Regions from separate parts of the Homo sapiens genome. Here regions 2, 3, 4 and 5 are each linked to region 1. Evidence: promoter capture Hi-C in 16 types of primary human blood cells and fetal thymus (Javierre and others, 2016). All regions are on one chromosome and are shown on one strand. Each heading gives the region's core, a stretch centred on a gene start or on the middle of the fragment in contact. The rest is flanking DNA. Distances are from core to core; before and after follow the strand shown. Region 1 holds the start of ADAMTS18 (ADAM metallopeptidase with thrombospondin type 1 motif 18). Region 2 overlaps LINC02131 (long intergenic non-protein coding RNA 2131). Region 3 has its middle 32 kb from the start of LINC02131. Region 4 has its middle 57 kb from the start of LINC02131. Region 5 has its middle 14 kb from the start of LINC02131.

Region 1 (3,842 bases), core at 994-3,493:
ATAGTGGAGCCCCTGTAGCTAGCAAAGATCAATGAGTGATGGCCTAATTAGGCTCACATTAAAAAAGAATTCTCCACAATAGACAATAATTTTCTTCTGTTTATGAACCATCTGTGACTTATTCCTTGGGCAGCTTTCATTTTTATATTCTTTATGTCCTCCCACTCCCATTTTTCTTCTTGACTCCCTCCTTTAACTAAAAATGCTGTATAATTGACATACATATTTTACAATAATGGGGGGAAAAGTTTTTCCCCTCTCTTAACCTTGAAAATCTGAGCCAGACATACAATATTTTTCTTCTCTTAAAAATCTGATACATTGCTTTAAAGGGATGTGGCTCTTGATTATGTGCAATTTCTTAGAGAAAGTCTACCTTCTCCTTCTGTCAAACTAAAACTTAACTATGAAAAAGATTCCTGACATATGCAGGAAGTCTGTGTCTCACCTTCTTGTCCCAAATCATCTGAAACTCTGCCTGCTCTTACTTGGAAGGCTCTGTAGGAACGTTATCCAGCCAGCCTTCTATGGAACCAGCCATCAAACGGCCCCAGACACCTGCTACCAGCTTGTTTCCAAGGGGAGAATAACAGGCTGTCGGTTACATTCGGTTCTTGATGGAAGAAGGGCAGTCAGTGTCCCCTGTAAAGAGTGATCTCTGATTGACCACTTCAGGAGGTGAGTAAGGGTGAGGTCCTTACAAGGTTGTGGCTGGGTCGGACGTGGCCTCCAGCCATCTGATCCTGATATAAGAATGAGGGGTGGTTTTAGAAACTGCAGCCTCTCTGTTTGGACAAAAGGTGAATCCCTTCTCCATGACTCCATCCTGCCCCACTCCCCATTCCCCTGACAAGAAAAGGAGATAACCTTGCAAAACTAAAAATTACAGAATTCTAAAGAATCCAGGTTGAGCTGTAAGGTTTTCCTAGACACCTTGCGTCAGGAATCAGCTGTTCTCCTGTAGCTGATGGGAAACAATCAAAACAAGGATTTCCCTCTGGGCTCCACTGGGAAGTTAATAAATGTCAGAAGTGAGGGATTTTCTGGAAGTTTGTGGCTGGCGAACGTCAGAAAAGATAGATAAAGGACTCAGAGACCTGAAGTCACCTGCTTTCCTCTCTCTAAAAGCAGCCTTAGACATCCGTAAAACAAGGGAAGCAGAAATGAAAAAAAAAGAAGAGATAGAAAAGGAACAGAAGTCGAGAGAAAAATGAGGAAAGATGGAGAGAGGAAAGAGGCTCACATTCTTTCATCTCCCACTAAGAATTAGCTTCCCCCAACAAGAGTTAGGAGAGGGAGGAAATAAGTAATTCCTTAGTTAATGTCCACTTCCCTTCGAATTTCTCACTGCAGTTAGGATTTTTTTTTTTTTCTTGTTCTTCTTAACAAGCCACCTGTGAAGGAGGGAGAGTATTTGCTTTTATGTGACTTGCAGCTCGGGGCGTTGATTCTTTTGATAAGTTCAGTCCTTGCCAACCTTCCCCCCTCTCCAAACAGGAACCATTTCCAAGACAGCGCACACCTGCCAGGTTAGGGGGTGCGCTTTTCCATCTTTTCTCTCTTTGGGGGAAGGAAGGGTCAAAGTGCTGCGAAAGGCCCTTCTTGGGGATGGGGGGCAAATACGAACCATCATTTAATCCGCTGGCGCCGCTGCTGCTGTCACTGGCTAAGGCCGCGGCGACCGACGCACAGCAGAGGCAGCACAGCTGGAGCGCCTGCAAGAGAAAAGGTGACATCGCGCGTGAGGGGCGCGGCGGGGCTGGCGTCGGGCGCCCCCTGCCACCCGCTCTCGGAGCTCCGCTCGGCGGCACCTGCCTTGGCCACGCGCCCCAGTCCCGCCAGGCCCCTCGGCGGGCCCGAACCCGCAGCCGGGAAGGCACACGCGAGCAGGAGGGCGCACTCCATGGTCAGGTGCGGACGCGGCGGCTGCGGGTGGCCAGACGCGGCAGGCGGAGCGCACGGGCGGCGCGCATTCTTTCCGCGGCCCCGGAGCTCGGCGCCCCAGGTGCGGCTCCAGGTGAGAGCCGCCGCCGTTCACATCGCAGCGGGGGCGCGCTGGGACCTCCCCTCCTCCGGCCGCCTGCGCGCCCTCCCTTCTCCCGGCGCGGGCCTGCCGAGCTGCAGTTTGCGGCACCCCAGAGGGTACGGGGGGCTCCCTGGGCCGGGACTGGAGCGCAAACGGTTGGGAGACTGTCGGTGTCTGCCCGCCCGTCTGTGCGTCTGTCTGTGTCGGTGTGAGCGTCTGAGGCGATGGGGAAGACAGCGCCAGCTGGCTCCCCCAGCGCGCCGGAGCCGAGCGCCCGCCTCTCCACCGCGCGGTGATTGGCGACCAGCGGCTCCCGGGCTCGTCCGAGCCCCCGGGCTGGTGCAAGGGCGTGGGATTCCCGGCTCCAGCTCTGAGGGAGGGGGCGAAGGGGGCGGGGAGGCTGGGTGGGAGTGATAGGGAGGGAGGGACCGACCGCCATGAGAAGGAGGGGAGCGCCCAGGGTCAGGCTTGGAAAACGTAATTTAAGCGCACTGGGAGATGAGTTCGGAAGACGAAAGGCTCAGGTGAGTGGCGCGACTTTTTCGCTGCCTGTGCAGACTTCTCATTTTCAACTCTTCTGGCAAAGAGTCAAGATAGCGTCCTCAACACCTCCTAAGTGCTGGGAGCTATCCCCTGCTGTATCGCATTTGCCTCAGGCCCTACCTTTTTCAGGTGGGAATTATTAATTCCTTGATAAAGATGAGGAAAAGGAGGCTCAGATGCGCACAAGCTGACCTAGCTTCCCAGAGTCAGCAAATCTGAGGCAGCCGGGAGGACCAGAACAATGAGCTGTCACTGTCTGCAGCATGTAAAAACTCATGGCACGCGGGGGCCTCCCTCTTCTCCCGGATCTCTCTCTCTCTTCTTGACGTGACCGTGCTTCCCACTCTTCGAGATTGAATCTTGGCCCCAGATACCCAAACCCACAGAAATCAGTTATAACAAACAGCGCACGCCATCACTAGGAATGTGCATCCAGTTTGCTGTGTGCCTGTTCGTTTACTCAAGACATTTATTTGATCCTTTGATCCCTGTTTGCAGAGGTGAACAAAATACAGTCTCACGGGCCAGTGGAAACGAATCTGATTGGATAGCTCGACAACGGTAATAGAAGCAAAATGAACACAAATACTAAAAAGGAAAAGAATAGTCTCCTAAATTAGATGGCAGCAGAATCTAATTTAGATGGGATAAGATGTGTGTGTGTGTGTGTGTGTGTGTGTGTGTGTGTGGGTGTATATATACACACACACATATATATACACACACACACGCATACATACACGTGCAAGGCATCTGTTAGGAGCTGACACTTAAAATAAGGCCAGAGAGAGTGGATCGGTTTTATAAGGGAAGAGGGGAGTAGGATCTTGCATGTTAGGACAGGGGGCACAGCATAAGTGAAGGTCTCAAGGTAGTTAAGTGATTGCCACGTGAAAAGTGTTACAGGCCAGAGGAAGAAGCAAACACAGCAGTTGCTGGGTCAGCTGGACCTTGTAAGCTGGGGCGAAGCATGTTGGAAACCATTAGATTTAAATGAATGTGGGTTTGTGTATGTGTAGGAGGCAACATCATATCCAATAATAAAAAAATGTGAACCATTTTTTGAGCGAGTGTAGGGATTGGACGAGCTGAGGCAGGGTCAGAGAGAAACAAACCACGCAGCTGTTGCTGGCATGAAGGGGTACAATGACAGTGTCTTGCTTGGACCAGGGTAGTGGTAGTGGAAGTAGATGTATTACTCTGCTCAGTCCTGTGGGTACTGAAGTAGTTAACATGAGGTCTATGTCAAGCCTCGATTAAGTGATAGCTCAAT
Region 2 (4,075 bases), core at 763-3,262, 160 kb after region 1:
ATGTGTTTATATCAAAGTACACTATATTCCAAGTATCAAATGTAAGATGGTGACAATAACTGAAGTGAAAATTGAAAGAGGGGAGAGGTTGCCTGATTCCTGAATAGCTGTCAAGGAGGAGAGGAGACTCTACCTTGGTTTATGGATGGGTCCAATATGGACATACAGAAAAGTAGGTCAAGAAGAGATGAAGCATGAGAAAAACCTTGGAGATGAATGTGAGAATGTTTAGTTGCTCATTAATATTTAAGGAGGAGTAAATATAAGAATATTGGAAGATCACTTGAGGCCAGGAGTTTCAGACCAGCTGGGACAATACAGCATTTCTACAAAAGATAGTTTTAAAATTACCTGAGCGTGATGGCATGCACCTGTAGTCCCAGCTACTCAGGAGGATTGCTTGAGCCCAGGAGTTGGAGGCCGCAGTAGGCTATGATTGCACCCCTGCACAATAGCCTGGGCAACAGAGCAAGACTATCTGTTTAAAAACAAATAAACAAACAAACCAACCTGAAAAAAATAACACTGATAGAGTAAAAAATATGACAAGGAACTTGTAGAAGGTGAGGACAGAAGGTTATGCTGTGGAAAATAATAGTGTATAAAATGGGGAAGGTATCTGGTCTACTTCATGACATCAGGTTAGAGTTCAGACTCAACTCTTGAGGAAGAAGTTGTGCTATACATCTTTTGATATCTCCTGCATCTAACACAGTGCTTAACATGTAGAAAGCTTCCAATAAAATATTAAAGATGGAATGAGGTCACATGCACAATGGCATTTTGACGAACACAAAGCATGCACGACATCATGCGATTATTAATATTGATGAGGAAAGAGTATTCAAAGGAAATTTCCATAGGATTCCTGAGAGATGAATAATAAATTGAGGGTCTCTGGCAATCGTTAACATTGTTGTCAAAGTTCAACAGGCATTTCCTTCTCAAAAACAATGAAGGGAAACCCATTCTACTGGTTCCTGCTACAACTGGGGATATTATGCCAAAAGGGCAAGAGGAATAGAGATTCCTATGTGGCCCTTTTTGAATTTCGGAATTGAGACACACTCTACCCTTCCCCCCACCCAGTCTCCCCTAATTAAAAAAAAAATAGCAATAGCCTTTAATATAAGCAAACAGGAAGTTTTACATTCACCAAATGCTACAGTTCACCTTCCATTGCATGACAGCTCAAGCTATGGAATCAGACAGACCTGGGTTCAGGTCCCAGCTCAGCAATTTATTAGCTCTGCCACTTTAGACAAGTTACTGAGCTTCTTTGAGCCTTTGTAAGAAGATGAGGCAGCAAAAGCAACACCTATCTCATACAACTTATGAGGATGATGGAAGTGATGAATAGGAAACCTAATTACCCACATGTAAATACCAGCTTGGAGACAAAATGATCTCATTTCAAGGAGACATCAAAAGCCAATGAGACAATTTCTGTTGAGTTGAAAATCCCACAAAGATTTCATCCACGTTGTAAATTGGTACTTGATATTAATCTATTTTTTGACTCCTCCTAAGTGCAGTGTTGCCTTCACACGTAGCTGCGTCTCTCAGCAGGGTGATCCATATCCACAGATTGCCCACAGCTGTCTCAACCACATGAAAGACCCAGACACTCCCAAATGACCCACTGGCACAAGGTAGCCATTCATCAAATGCTAGAAGCTCAGCACCAGACACAATGAAAGGTTAGCGCTCGGTTTTTATTGCGTCGGTATTAGCTTTCCCTGTCTGCAGCCATTTGATTGGTACAAAGCTTTACACTGTTTACAAATGTTTTAGAGTCCTGGCCTTTTCTTCTTATTGACTTTTACATACTCACATCATTAATCTTTAATTTTCATTGGAAACTACATCCAGCAATCAAAATGAAATGCTGCCTTCTGCCATGTGCCTCAAAAGTCCTGATGAATTGCACACCACTAAAGAGTCTAGGTAGAGTACAGTGTGTTGGGAGGAGAATTGCCATTACTCATTCTATGCAAAAGTTGAAACTGTTATTTTTGTGACACCGCATGTGCACTTGATACCAGCCACGTATTTTCTAGCATACAGTGAGCATTTCATACAGAGCAGTGGTTTTTATTGGCTATGGTTATCTCCATAACTGATATCCTTGAGAAAAACAATTGATATTTATCAAAGATAGGAAGTAACTTCTGAAGTAAATAACATTCTTTGTCAGTGATAACTGTTACAGAAATAGCAGAGCAATGAAAGAAGTAGCAGTGTCACTATATAATCCAAGCTTGAGAGTGCTGAACAAGGGTGTAATGCAATTTGCCATTTTGCTTACTGATGTCACATATAAATGGGGAAGACACAGTGGCATACTTTTGAGAAAAAGGAATTGTTTTCAGATTTCTTTCAAATAATTTCCAAGATCAGCATTGTCAAGTGCAACAATCTGTAATGATGGAAAAGTTGCACAACAGCAAAAAGCTGGCATGCATCTGTGTCATTAAAAACTCAGTATGATTTAACAAATTTTAGCTAAGATTTAAAAATACCGTGTTATGTGATGTGGATATGCCAGACATTACTTAGTTACTCCCCTACTTTTTCTTATTATAGTTATTTTTCATTTTTTTATTGTAAATATTTTCATAATGTCAATCAAAGAGTACTTTTGAGATCCAATGATATATACTGAAACTTTGAGAAGCTAGTTATGCCATTAGGAATCCCAGTCTCTTAAGAGTTTTGCTTACCATTTAAGACGAATCTGAAAGAAACAGTCAATCAACATTGCATTAATCCATTAATGAATATAATTATATGGATGTAACTGAGACAGGATTTTCAATACACAAAACGTGTGCTGTTAAGAAATAGATAAAAAGGAAGCCTATAAAGATTTTACCCCAAGTTGCAATAGTTCCTTGCTATCAAATTTTTGGATTGGTTTATAAAACTTTATGTTCAATACTTCCTGTTTAATTCATGAAGCATATTCTGGCCAATATGGGTGAAACCACAGAGAAAGAAAAGTAAACAAGTATACTTAGGATAATTCATGGTAATTGCTCTTATGAAAGAGATTATGAATCATTTTATCTCTACAAATTTGATGCATTTCCAAGCATTCTGGTGTGGCACAAGAATATTACAGATTCAATTCCTCAATTCCCAAGCATTTCCTGTTTCCCAAGCCTTCTGATGTGGTACAAGAATATTAAAGACTCATTTCCTGATTTTGATAAAGTTACAGTGTGGCTGGGAGGCAAGACATGCACAAAGATACTAAACATAAGTTTACATAAGTTATGTCAAAGTAAATGCTTTGAAAGAAAAGGTAAAATCTCCATGACTGGGATGTCAGGATAATGCCATAAGGGAGTGGATGAAAATTTGTCTTTGAGGAATGCAGTAAGCCTCATAAAATCATCATAAAGAAGAATGGAAAATAAAGACTCCTGGTGTGTCTGCGAAATAATTAGAGGACTAATCTGTGTAGAGGAAATACATTTATTGGAGGCAGGTGAGGTAAGGTAAAAGAAGGCAAAGACACTGGCTGCAGTCTGAATCTTCAGGGCTTTATTCTACACCCAATAGAGATGTCATTTAACAACGTAATGACTTACAAAGATTCTTGCTTTCAGATATTGGTCCGAGCATGATGTGATCAGGGGAAAGAACGGTGGGGACAGGAAGATCACTTTAGGGAGCCATCTTGCACATTTGGAATAAGAGGAGAATACAGGAGAATAAAATATGAACTCAATGACATCAGCAGAAATAAAAATTCTTTCAGAGGGATACTGAAGAAGCATGATTAACAGACTTTTGAGGTTATATGGATATTGTCAAAGAGGCAATGCATCATAAAAAACCACCCTAAAATTGTAAACTCAGTTGTTGGAAGAACTTATGATATGACCACTGAGAAAAAGAGAAGTTAAAGAAAAGTATTAATTTAGGAATGGCAGAGACCAGATGATATATGAGTCTGGTTTAAGACATGCTGAATTGAATCTATTGATATATTACTAGATGGAGGGACTTAGAGGATGGTTAAAAATATTTGGCTGAAGCTCAGGAAAGAGATTGGACACTGGGAGTC
Region 3 (4,019 bases), core at 511-3,010, 190 kb after region 1:
CCACTTTAAATATAATGATATTTCTAGGTTATGGTAAAAGGATGAGAAAAATATCATGCAAATGCTAGTCAAAAAATACCTGAAGAGACTCTATTAAAATCAGAAAAAGATTTCAGAAAAAAATTACCAGAAATAAAAGGCAACATTATATGATTATAAAAAGGGTAAGTGTACAGAATGTCTATACTGAAAATGTCAAAATATTGATGAAATAATCAAAGAACACCTATATAGAGAAATGTACCCTATTCATAGACTGGAAGTTTTTGTATTGTTAAAATGTCAGTTCTATCCCCCTCCACAAAATGGATACGTAGATTTAATGCACTTCTAACAAGAATATCAAAAAGAGATTTAGTAGCTATGCACAAACTTAATTTAAATTGTATATGATAAACAAAAACAAAGGGAACAGAACCATCAAAACTATTGTGAAGAATAAAGTTGGTGGAGTCATACTTTCTGATTTTAAGACATTATAAAATTTTAATGATCAAGACAATGTCAGAAATCAGACACTAATCAGAAAAGAGTTGGACATATAGAACAATGGAATTGTTTCTAAAGTCCAGAAACAGACCCACACAAATATGGCCAACTGATTTTTGACAAAGGTAAAAAACACATTGGAGAAAAAATTTTTTCCAACAAATAGTATTGGAACAAACGGACATCCATATGCACAAAGTAAACCTTGACCTAAACTTCACATCTTATGCAAAAATTAACTCAAAATAGATCAGAGATCTCCTTTGCAAAACATAAAACTCTAAAACTTTTAGAAAAAAAAGAAGAAAAACTTTGTTACATGGGGTTACACAAAAAGTTCTTAAACACAGTCGTTTCTGAAAAATTTAAACATACATTTATCATACGATCCAGCAATCCTACTTCTAGGTATTTATCTTTGCAAACTGAAAACTTGAAGTTCCCTCAATAAAGCTGTACACAAATGTTTATAGAAGCTTTATCTGTGATAGCCAAAAACCTCAAACAACTTAAATATACTTAAATGGATAAAGAGATCCATAGATTCATACCGTGGAATACTATTCAGCAACAAAAAAGAACAAACTATTGATACAGTGTAACAACTTGAGTGAATCTCAAAGGCATTATGCTGATTGGAAAAAAAAAACAGTTTCCAAAAGGTTGCATAATGTAGGATTCTTTTATATAACATTCTGGAGCAAAGCAAAACTACAGTAATGGAGGACAGATCAGTGGTTTCCAGGGGTTAAGGATGGAGGAGGAGATATTACTACAAAGCAGCAGCATTAGATAATTTAAGGGGAACAAAGAACTGTTTCAGATCCTGATTGTGGTCATGGTTACATGCATCTACACATGTGTTAAAACTCACAGAAGTTTACACCAAAAAAAAGTCAATTTTAATGTTGATGTAAAAAATAAAATTTAAAAAAACTAGATTGGGGTAAAGGGAGATACTGTCACTCCCCCAAGAAATAAAACCCATAAGTTGGCAATAACAGCAAAAGAGATACTCAGAAACTCAAATCAGGACTTAAGACACTGGGTATATTTCCTTTCAAAGCAAAGTCATCCCTCTTTATTTTTTATGATTGATTCATTTCTAATTATTTCACTACCTTTAGGGGTACAAGGCATTTTTGGTTACACAGACGAATTGTATACCGGTGCTGGGCTTTTAGTGTACCTGTCACCTGAACAGTGCACATTGTACTCAATAGGTGGTTTTTCATCCTTTATTTCCCTCCCAACCTTCCCCTTTCTCAGTCTCCAATGTTCATTATACCCCTCTATATGCCGCTTAGCTCCCGCTTGTAAGTGAGAATATGTGGTATTTGGTTTTCTATTCCTCAGTTACTTCACTTAGGATAATGACCTCCCAACCAAGTTGCTGCACAAGACATTATTTCATTCTTTTTCTATGGCTGAGTAGTATTCCATGGTATATGCCACATTTTCTTTATCCACTCATTGGCTGATGGGCACTTAGGTTGATTCCACATCTTTGCAATTGTGAATTGGCCTGTGATAAACATGCATGCACAGGTGTCTTTTTTTATATAATGACTTATTTTCTTTTGAGTAGACTCCCAGTAGTATGATCGCTGGATCAAATGGTAGATCTCCTTTTAGTTCTTTGTGAAATCTCTATACTGTTTTCTATGGTGGTTGTATTAATTTACATTCCCACCAGCAATATATAAGGATTCCCTTTTTACCACATGTACACCAACATCTACTGTTTGTTTGGTTTTGTTTTTTTTTTTTACTTTTTAATAATGGCCATTCTGGCTGGGGTAAAGTTGGCATCATATTGCGGTTTTAATTTGCGTTTCCCTGATTAGTGATGCTGAACATTTTTAATATGTTTATTGGCCATTTGTGTATCTTCTTTTGAGAAATGTCTGTAAATGTCACTTGTCCCCTTTTTAATGGGATTTTTTTTTTCTTGCTGATTTGAGTTTCCTGTAGATTCTGGATATGAGCACTTTACTGGAGATACAGTCTGCAAATATTTTCTTATTCTTTAGGTTGGCTGTTTACTCTATTTCTTTTCGTGTGCAGAAGCTTTTTAGTTAGCTCTCATTTATTTTTGCCTTTTTTTTTTCTTCCCCCTGAGACAGAGCCTCGCTCTGTCGCCCAGGCTGGAGTGCAGTGGCGTGATCTCGGCTCACTGCAACCTACGCCTCCCAGGTTCAAGCGATTCTCCTGCCTCAGCCTCCCAAGTACCTGGGACTACAGGGCACCTGCCACCACGCCCGGCTAATTTTTACAGTTTTAGGAGAGACGGGGTTTCACCATATTGACCAGGATGGTCGCAAATTCCTGACCTTGTGATCTGCCCGCCTCGGCCTCCCAAAGTGCTGGGATTACAGGCATGAGCCACCGCACCCAGCTCTATTTTTGCTTCTGTTACATTTGCTTTGCCATACATTCTTTACCTAGGCCAATGTCCAGAAGAGTGTTTTCTAGGTTTTATTCTAGAATTTTTATGGTTTCTTAGATTTAAGCTTTAATCTACGTTGAATTAATTTTTCTATGTGGTGAGAGATAAAGATCGTTTCATTCTTCTGCATGTGGCCAACCAATTTTCCCAGCACCATTTATCAAATAGGGTGTCCTCCCCCAGTGTATATTTTTGTCTGCCTTGTTGAAGATCAGTTAGTTGTAAGTAGGGTCAGCTCCCATTATATTTCACAGTTTTGTCAATGGTTTCATCACCAAAATGAAGACACTACAGGGAAGAGCCCTAGTGGCAGAGAAACTGTATTAGACAAAATGCTAAAGTCGTGAGGCGATGGACAGCAGGTGTCTTAAATCCAGGATTAACGTGTGGTAGAGATAAGAAAGCAAAGAGCCTTCTCTGGGCTTCTTTCTTCTTACCTGTATCACAGGCAGCTGCCGTACAAAGCCGGGAAGTGGTTAAGAAACTGAAAACAGTGTGGGTTAAAATTTCAGCTCTGCTTCTTACCAGTTGAAAGACTAGTCAAATGCTTTGACATCTGTATTATTATTTTGTCAGGATCTCACTGTCACCCAGTCTGGAGAGCAATGGCGCGACCTCGGCTCACGGCAACCTCGGCCTCCTGGGTTCAAGCGATACTCCTGCCTCAGCCTTCCAAGTAGCTGGGATTACAGGCCAGCATGCCTGGCTTATTTTTGTATTTTTAGTAGAGACGAGGTTTCAACCATGTTGGCCAGGCTGGTTTCGAGCTCCTGACCTCAGGTGATCTGCCCACCTCAACCTCCCAGAGTGCTGAGATTACAGGCATGAGCCACCGCAACCAGCCCAAATGCTTTGACTTCTTTATGTCTCTCTTTGCCTCTATGCTGCATTGTCTCATCCAAATGTAAAATTACACAAAAGCACCTATCCTTCAGGGTCGTCAGGGGAATTGAGACAATCTTACTACTATACTTGAAAAGCAGTACCTGGTACAGGAGAGACATACAACAAATGTTACTGATTTTTAAAACGATTATCTCTAAAACTGGAGAGACAGAGCAGTATCTCTCAAACTTATTGT
Region 4 (3,799 bases), core at 503-3,002, 210 kb after region 1:
CTGCATGGTAATAAAAGCAGACAGACTACGACTACACCCAACAACAGGATGACTCACAATTGTGATACACAGCAAGGGAGCCAGACACATTTAAAAGCACTCACTGTGTAATCCCTTTTATATCATATTCAAAAACAAGCAAAATTCATCTATGCTGTTAGAAGTCAGGAGGAAGATTACCTTGAGGGATGGATGGAAAGTGAGTGAGGGAATCTTCTAGAGACACTTAACGTTCACTTTCTTGATCTGGGTGTTGGTTACATAGGTGTATACAGTTTGTGAAAATTCCATGAGCTGTGAATGTGATTTGTATTTTTTTAATTTATGTGATATCTTAATCAACATTCAAAAAACAGAGAGAGTTGTATGACAAAGATAACCCACTGCTCTGTAGCAAAGTTCTTCCCAGCCAGGCTGGGCACTTACCCTTTGCCAAACACGCAAATCTTTTTCATCCCTATTTTTGCTCAGGCCATATTCTCACCTTCAAATTACCCAACTCACCATCTCTGTCCATTAAAACACTTTCCATTTTTTGAAACCCAGCTCAAGGGCCCCACCTCCAAGGAACCTTTCCATTTCTGTAGCCAGAAGGGAATTCTTGCTGCCCCAAACCCTAGAGTGCTTGGATAGCATTTCTCGGACCACAACTCTGAGGTCTTTTGAGCCCCATATATAGCCTGGCAAGTGACAGGTCATTGAGATAGGTTTTCTGTTGTAAGAACATCTACCTTAACCTCATAATGCAGTGATCTGTGTTTGCTTTACTTCCTGCCTTCAGGAAGCTCTTGGGAGAAATAGGTCTACGTGTCTTTGTACTACTCACCACATCCAACCCATAACCATGCATATTTTAGATGCTCAGGTAATGTTTTTGAATAAAGATAAATGTCACCTGTGAAAAGAATTTGCAGTGAAAGAGATACCTTGAAGATCTCAGCAGATCTACTATGTTACTTTTGTTTTCTCTGCCACTCTGTGGCCCAGGCTGGAGTGCAGTGGCATGACCACAGGTCACTGCAGCCTTGGGCTCAAGTGACCTCCCACTTGACCTCCTGAGCTCAAGTGATCCTCCCATCTCAGCCTCCCAAGTAGCTGAGAGTACAAGAGAATGTTACCACACCCAACTATTTTTTTTTTTTTTTTTTTTTTTTTTTTTTGTTGTTGTTGTTGTTGTTGTAGAGACCTGGTCTTGCTCTTTTGCCCAGGCTGGTCTCAAACTCCTGAGCTCAAGCAATCCTCCCACCTCAGCCTCCCAAAGTGCTGGCATTACAGGTGTGAGCCACCATATCCAGCCCTATTTCATGTCTTTATAAAAGAAAATATAGAAGACTTCAATATGAGGTCACCCTTTCTCCTCAGTGGCTGGTATTTTATTGGCTTTGTACTTAATTGAAAGCCCCCTTGGGGGGTCAACTTATCCACACAGGCAAAAATGTGAGCTTTTCAATCAGAAAACTGAAGGCAGCTGAGATGTCTGGATCATAGTGATGAACAGGTTCAGCCCAATTCCAAGTTCCTTGGATCAACCTTGGCAGATGCTTCCACATACTAAGAAAAGGCATCCAACAATCAGATCAGCACAGCAATATGCAATGAAAAATGACAAGAGTGGCATCAACAGACAAGCGTTTAAGCCCACTCCAGCTTTGTCTCCCAGAAGAACAACAGTATTTCTCAAGAGTCCCCGATGTGCCCTCAATCTGTAATTCTGCTCCCCCTTCCCTCTTTTCTTCCCTTTCCAATAAGCTGCACATTGTTCAAGACAAATTCACTGTGAAATGATTTTTTTTAATCATTAGGGCAAAATGAGCAGTGTTAGAGTGCTAAGATTCCTGAATTAATAAAATTGCTGCCATCCATGATTTTAACTTTCTCTTTTCTGTTGACAGAAGCCAAGACATTAGGAGATATTTTCCAGCACTACAGTCAAACTGTGCATTTTTAGATTTGTGGGCAGGCCGAGTGATCTCCAGCCAGAGTCTCAGCCCTCAGTTCTACATTCCTATGTCATTCTCTTACCACAGCATCATTTCTGGTCTCCTCCAAGTCATTGCTTTGGAGAAAATGAAGCACATTTTCAGAATATAAGAATAACCCAGGCAACCTAAGGCCAACTAACAAGGCAGTTGGTGAAGTCAGCAGAAGCAAGAGCTGATATTAGCAACATACATGTGGGTAACACCTTCCATCATGAAGATCTGTATCAAGACATTTTATACCTGCACCAAGAATCTCATTGGTGCGTGCAGCTTACAGGTTCAAGCACCCTAAAGGGTCCACATCTTTTCCTGTTTTTATTAAAAGTACAAGGAAACATGGCACTTAAAATAGGTATGCCAGGACTAACCTACTTACATTCAGGTCTCAACTTGAATTTCCTTTCTCATGAAAGCCTGGCCCAGTACCAGTTAGGAGCTGGACACTCTTAACATTCTTCCTCTATGTCACTTGCTGCAATTGTAATTTACTAATTACGTATGTGATCATCTCTTCACAGAAATTTAAGTTCCATGCAGACAAGGATTGAATCTGTCTTGTCCATGGCTGATATGGTTTGGCTGTATCCCCACCCAAATCTCACCTTGAATTCCCACATGTTGTGGGAGGGACCCGATAGGATAACTGAATCATGGGGGCAGGTCTTTCCCGTCCTGTTCTCATGACAGTGAGTAAGTCTCATGAGATCTGACAATTTCAAAAACGGGAGTTTCCCTGCATAACCTCTCTCTCTTTGCCTGCCACCATCCATGTAAGACATAACATGCTCCTCCTTGCCTTCCTCCGGGATTGTGAGGTCTCTGTCACCCAGGCTGGAGTGCAGTGGCACAATCTCGACTCACTGCAGTCTCTGCCTCCCAGGTTCAAGCGATTCTCCTGCCTCAGCCTCCTGAGTAGCTGAGATTACAGGCATGCACCACTACGCCCAGCTAATTTTTTGTATTTTTAATAGAGACAGTGTTTCACCATGTTGGCCAGGCTGGTCTCGAACTCCTGACCTCAAGTGATCCACCTGCCTTTGCCTCCCAAAGTGCTGGGATCACAGATGTGAGCCACTGTGCCTGGCCCACCTTAGCTCTTTTTTTTAAGTAGGTCTCTTCATTTCCAGCTAGCAGGTAATTCTTGATGCTTTCAGATCACCCCCTACCAGAAAAAGCACTAGTGAATTCCTCATACCCATGTGAATAAAATGAAAGCTCCATAGCTTGGAATACTCCATGTGGTCCCCAACCTGTTTTCAATTCCCTTCCCACATGATCCCTCAACATTCCCCTTCATGCAGGAAGCCTTTCCTAATTATCTTCTACCTGAAGATGTAACCAAATACTCCCACCGCATTTTCTAGAACTTTGTAAATGCTTAATTTTATAAATTAGAAAGCATATGCTAAATTGTTCCTAGTAGTCTGGAAGGATCTTCCAGCCATAACCTAGATCATATTGGTCTTTGTTTATCCAAAAATGCCGAACACTCTGTTTGACCCATAATAGCTTTTCAAAAACATTTCTTGAATTTAATCAAGTTAATTCTTTCATTTATTCTTTGAAACACCCAGTTTCTATTTACCAAGGACCACCCCACCCCAGGGATAAAAATGTAGAATTGTGTGACCTTAGGCACCAGCCTTAACTCTTCTAAACCTTGGTTTCTTTCTCTGTAAAATGATCTCTGCTATGAACCAGGTAAGATAATGCATGTGAAACACTTAGCCTAGTGTCTGGCACATAGTATATGCTCAATAAATGTTAACCTGATATTATTATTATTGTCTCCCAAGGCAGTCTGTTCCATTGCCAGG
Region 5 (4,001 bases), core at 647-3,146, 140 kb after region 1:
CTTTTTTCTCCCTTCAGTGGCCCTGGTTGCTGTGGAGATTTTAGAGTTTTCCACACAGCCCACGCCTGACCTCTCATCTCCCCACGGTGCTCAGACGGCCCAGGGAAATCCTGGAGGGGACCTGCCAAGGGCTGTGGCCGAGGAAGCAGATCTCCCTCCTTATCGGCGGAGTAGGTCAACTTCCCCCCATTCTTTCCAAGAGGAAAACGTACCAGGCAGCCAGGCTCATCAGAGCTGCCTGACAAAGGCCAACTGGTGAAGAGGTGAAGCAGAAATGGCCCAGCGGCCTGAGTATCAGCTACCCCTGACTCAGCTGCAGGGTTTTGCAGGCCAGGGCCAGAGAGGGGCAGGGAACAGCTGCTGGTTGTCCTCTAAGGCAACCTGCCTTTCCCCTACCACACAAGCCGTCATTACCCCCTTCCTTCCTCTCCCCGTCACTCTGAAGTGCCCTCTGTTTTCCCAATGTCACTTTGCTCTGGCAAAGTCAGGCAGGCCACACGAAAGGGGTTTCCTTAAGTTGAATATTAATTCAAATACTCCAAGTGAGCACTTAAAGGAGCTGGTACAGTGAAGTACTGTACGTAACCCCTAGAACGTTCTTTGTCACCCTAACTTTATCATTGTTCCTTTTGCTCTTATTCTGAGGCTTTCATCCACATCATCTCCTGTGTGAAAGATGTTTTCTACTTGCATTTTAAGCCACCCTTGAAGACAGGTAACAGAATGTACACATAGCACAGTATACATTCACTTATTTTTTAAATCCCCAACAACACATAACTTCATGTCAGGTACTGTGTAGGTGCTTGGTGAGGGCTTGTATAAATCGATAAATTGATCAAAAGTATCCGGCAATCAACAACTCCACTTCTTAGTTTTGTCTTGAATCTGAACATTCACTCACTCGCTAGCCCAGTGTCATTTGATCACTCAGTCTCTCATTTAACCACTGTGCAGTTATTTTCAGGGCACCTCCCAGGTGTCAGGCACCACACCAGGTGCTGGAGCCATAATGGTGGAAGAAAGACATTGTCCCCAAACTCATGAATATATGCCTAGCAGTGGGGTACACATTCATAAAGAAAAAAAAAATTTTTTTTTTGGTATTCCCAAGACTTTTCACTAATTCAAAGTGCCCTTTCAAGTCATGCAAATAATTTGAGATTCACAGTGTCTTAAAAAGCCCTAGAGCTCAACCATGTGCACCTTAAATAGAAAAATAAGTTTATGTTACATCACACTCAATTTAACTTACTTTCCTTCTTGGTCCATGCAAGATCTTTAGCTTCCCCCCACCGCTTCCTTTTATCTCTAATTTCTGCTCCCATTTTCTACCCCATAAACCGTACTATACAATTTTCAGTATGTATCCTTAAATATGCTTGTAATATTATAAATTTTGTGCTTTATGTATATGTATGCGCATGTGTGTTAAATTTACATTGAAGGTTTTGTGTTCAAAATCATATCCTGTTTCTTTTCTTTTTTCTATTTATTTTATTTATTTATTTATTTATTTATTTATTTATTTATTTATTTGAGATGGTGTCTCGCTCTATTGCCCAGGCTGGAGTGCAGTGGCATGATCTTGGCTCATGGCAACCTCTGCCTCCTGGGCTCAAGCAATTTTCCTTGCCTCAGCCTCCCGAATAGCTGGGACTACAGGCGCCCGCCACCCGGCCCAACTAATTTTTGTATTTCTTAGTAGAGATGGGGTTTCACCATGTTAGCCAGGCTGGTCTTCAACTCCTGACCTCAGGGTATCACCTGTCTCGGTCTCCCAAAGTGCTGGGATTACAGGCGTGAGCCACCATGCCCAGCCTCTTAATTAGAATTTTTATACAATCTGTACAGCCTGCTGTATCTTATGTGTTTAACGAATTAATACAGAATGCTGTATAGTATTTGTATCCATTTCTGGTTGCTGCTGTAACAAATTGCCACAAACTTAGTAGCTTGCACAATACAAATGAATCATCTTCCAACTCTCCAGGTCAGAAGTCTGAAATGCATCTCACTAAATCAAAAGTTTCACTAAATGCATCTCACTAAGGGCTAAAGTCAAGACATTGGCAGAGCTTCATTCCTTCCTAGGAGAAAATCTTCTGTTTTGTAAACTCTATGGCTCTAGGGAAAAATCTATTTCTTTGCCCTTTCTTGCTTCTAGAGGCCTCCCACATTTCTTGGCTTGTGGCCCCTTCCTCCATCTTCAAAGCTAGGAATGGCAGGCCAAGTCTTTCTCATGCCACATCACTCTGACACTAATTTTTCTGTCTCCTTCTTCCACATTTAAGGACCCTGGTTACATGGGCCTACAAGAATAATCCAGAATAATCTATTTTAAAATCAGCTTATTAGCAGCCTTACTTCCATCTAATCATCACCCTTTTTCCATGTAAGGTAACACATCCATAGGCTCCAGGAATTAGAATGTGGAGAGTGTGTGTGTGTGTATAATGGTGGGAAGAGACAAAGAATTATTCTGCCTATCACAGTATTCCATACTGTGTGTCCATTGTGTGTCTAATGAGTTAATAGAGAATAATGCATTGCACTGGTGCCCATTTCCTATTGCTGCTATAACAAACTGCCACAAATTTAGTGACTTACACCATCCAAGTATATTATCTTCCAGTTCCAGAGGTCAGAACAAAAAAAACATATACATAGGGTTTTTTGAGGTAGAGTCTTGTTATGTTGCTCAGGTTGGTCTCGAACTCTTGGGCCCAGCTGATCCTCCTGACTCAGCCTAGTTTTCTGTCTCCAGGGAAATAAGAGACACCAATTCCTTGCTAAAACAAACAGGGTCTTGTTGTTCATTCTAGCAGATCTGTGAGAGAATTTCTCTGGGATATATATATATACATATACATATACATATACATATACATATACATATACATATACACCTGGGGATGGGATTATTGAGTTTTAAATAGGATTTATAGTTATGATACTGCATGATTTCACAAAAGGAAATGTTCACTTTGACTCTCTAGCAGGCAGGCAGTATTTCTATGGAAAATACAAGAAGAAGATATTAGACCAGGCACAATGGCTCATGCCTGTAATCCCAACACTTTGGGAAGCTGAGGCTGGCAGGTCACTTGAGGTCAGGAGTTCAAGACCAGCCTGGCCAACATGGTAAAACTTCATCTCTACTAAAAATATAAAAATTATCCAGGTGTGGCGGCATGCACTGGTAATCCCAGCTACTCTGGAGGCCGAAGCAGGAGAATCGCTTGAACCTGGGAGGTGGAGGTTGCAGTGAGCTGAGATTGTGCCACTGCACTCCAGCCTGAGTGACAGAGTAAAGACTCCATCTCAAACAAAAAAAAAAGAAAGAAAAAGAATTCCACGACATTGCAGCTGTACACAAATTTTTCATCTTTTTCCACTTTCCAGGCATATGATGGGATCACCCCACTCTGACCTTTTTGAAGATAGGCATGCAACTTGTTTTGGCCAATGAAATGTGATGGGAAGTGATAATGTGCCCTCCAGAGAGAAGCTGTAAGAGCCAGTGCACAGCTTTACTACCTGCCACGGAGATCATAGACACCTATGCTGATATGAAACCTTCATCAAACGCTGGGTCTCTAAATGACTGCAATGGACAGAGACCCCTGCCCCATCACCAATAATCTTGCCAACCAACTGGACGTTTAGAATCAGGAAAAAGAAAATCAAGTTTTTATTAGGTAAAGCCACTGAATTGTGTGGCACTTGTTATTGTACCATTACATAGTCTATCCTGACCAACATGTCCTTAAAAACAGGAATAATCCAAATTTAAACATTTAGATGTCGAGAAATGTTATAAAGCACTTTCTTACCTATTATTTCTATGTTTATCACTTGATTCTGCCTTTATCCCTCAGGGTCATGGGCCGGTTTTCCTTTCCTTTCTATTCACCCTGTTGATGAAGATATATTCAAACTATCTCTTCATTATCTTGCTCACTGATTGGTGATACCTAGTGGTACCTCCAACTGACAGC

The links. Contacts are between HindIII fragments. The CHiCAGO score rates a contact against its expected background, and 5 or more counts as called.
Region 2: a fragment that was not itself captured here is called in contact with the fragment with the promoter of ADAMTS18 in region 1 in 1 of 17 cell types (endothelial precursors); the score reaches 15.3 in endothelial precursors.
Region 3: a contact is called between a fragment that was not itself captured here and the fragment with the promoter of ADAMTS18 in region 1, in 1 of 17 cell types (endothelial precursors). The highest score is 6.2, in endothelial precursors.
Region 4: a fragment that was not itself captured here is called in contact with the fragment with the promoter of ADAMTS18 in region 1 in 1 of 17 cell types (endothelial precursors); the score reaches 8.5 in endothelial precursors.
Region 5: a fragment that was not itself captured here is called in contact with the fragment with the promoter of ADAMTS18 in region 1 in 1 of 17 cell types (endothelial precursors); the score reaches 16.3 in endothelial precursors.

Annotation. Positions count from the first base shown.
Region 1 is chr16:77,432,791-77,436,632 of GRCh38, forward strand. ADAMTS18 (ADAM metallopeptidase with thrombospondin type 1 motif 18) reads right to left here and starts at 2,244. Exons shown (of 23, transcript NM_199355.4): 1 at 1,816-2,244; 2 at 1,628-1,715. The coding sequence starts at 1,905. RefSeq lists an enhancer at 1,940-2,440. The HindIII fragment of the contact is 7,514 bases long and covers 1-3,842 here.
Region 2 is chr16:77,593,335-77,597,409 of GRCh38, forward strand. All of the region lies in intron 1 of LINC02131 (long intergenic non-protein coding RNA 2131), which reads left to right. Among named protein-coding and RNA genes, the nearest start is that of LINC02131, 4.5 kb to the left of the region's middle. The HindIII fragment of the contact is 492 bases long and covers 1,767-2,258 here.
Region 3 is chr16:77,620,915-77,624,933 of GRCh38, forward strand. No RefSeq gene overlaps it. Among named protein-coding and RNA genes, the nearest start is that of LINC02131, 32 kb to the left of the region's middle. The HindIII fragment of the contact is 1,594 bases long and covers 964-2,557 here.
Region 4 is chr16:77,645,930-77,649,728 of GRCh38, forward strand. No RefSeq gene overlaps it. Among named protein-coding and RNA genes, the nearest start is that of LINC02131, 57 kb to the left of the region's middle. The HindIII fragment of the contact is 5,695 bases long and covers 1-3,799 here.
Region 5 is chr16:77,574,975-77,578,975 of GRCh38, forward strand. No RefSeq gene overlaps it. Among named protein-coding and RNA genes, the nearest start is that of LINC02131, 14 kb to the right of the region's middle. The HindIII fragment of the contact is 6,778 bases long and covers 1-4,001 here.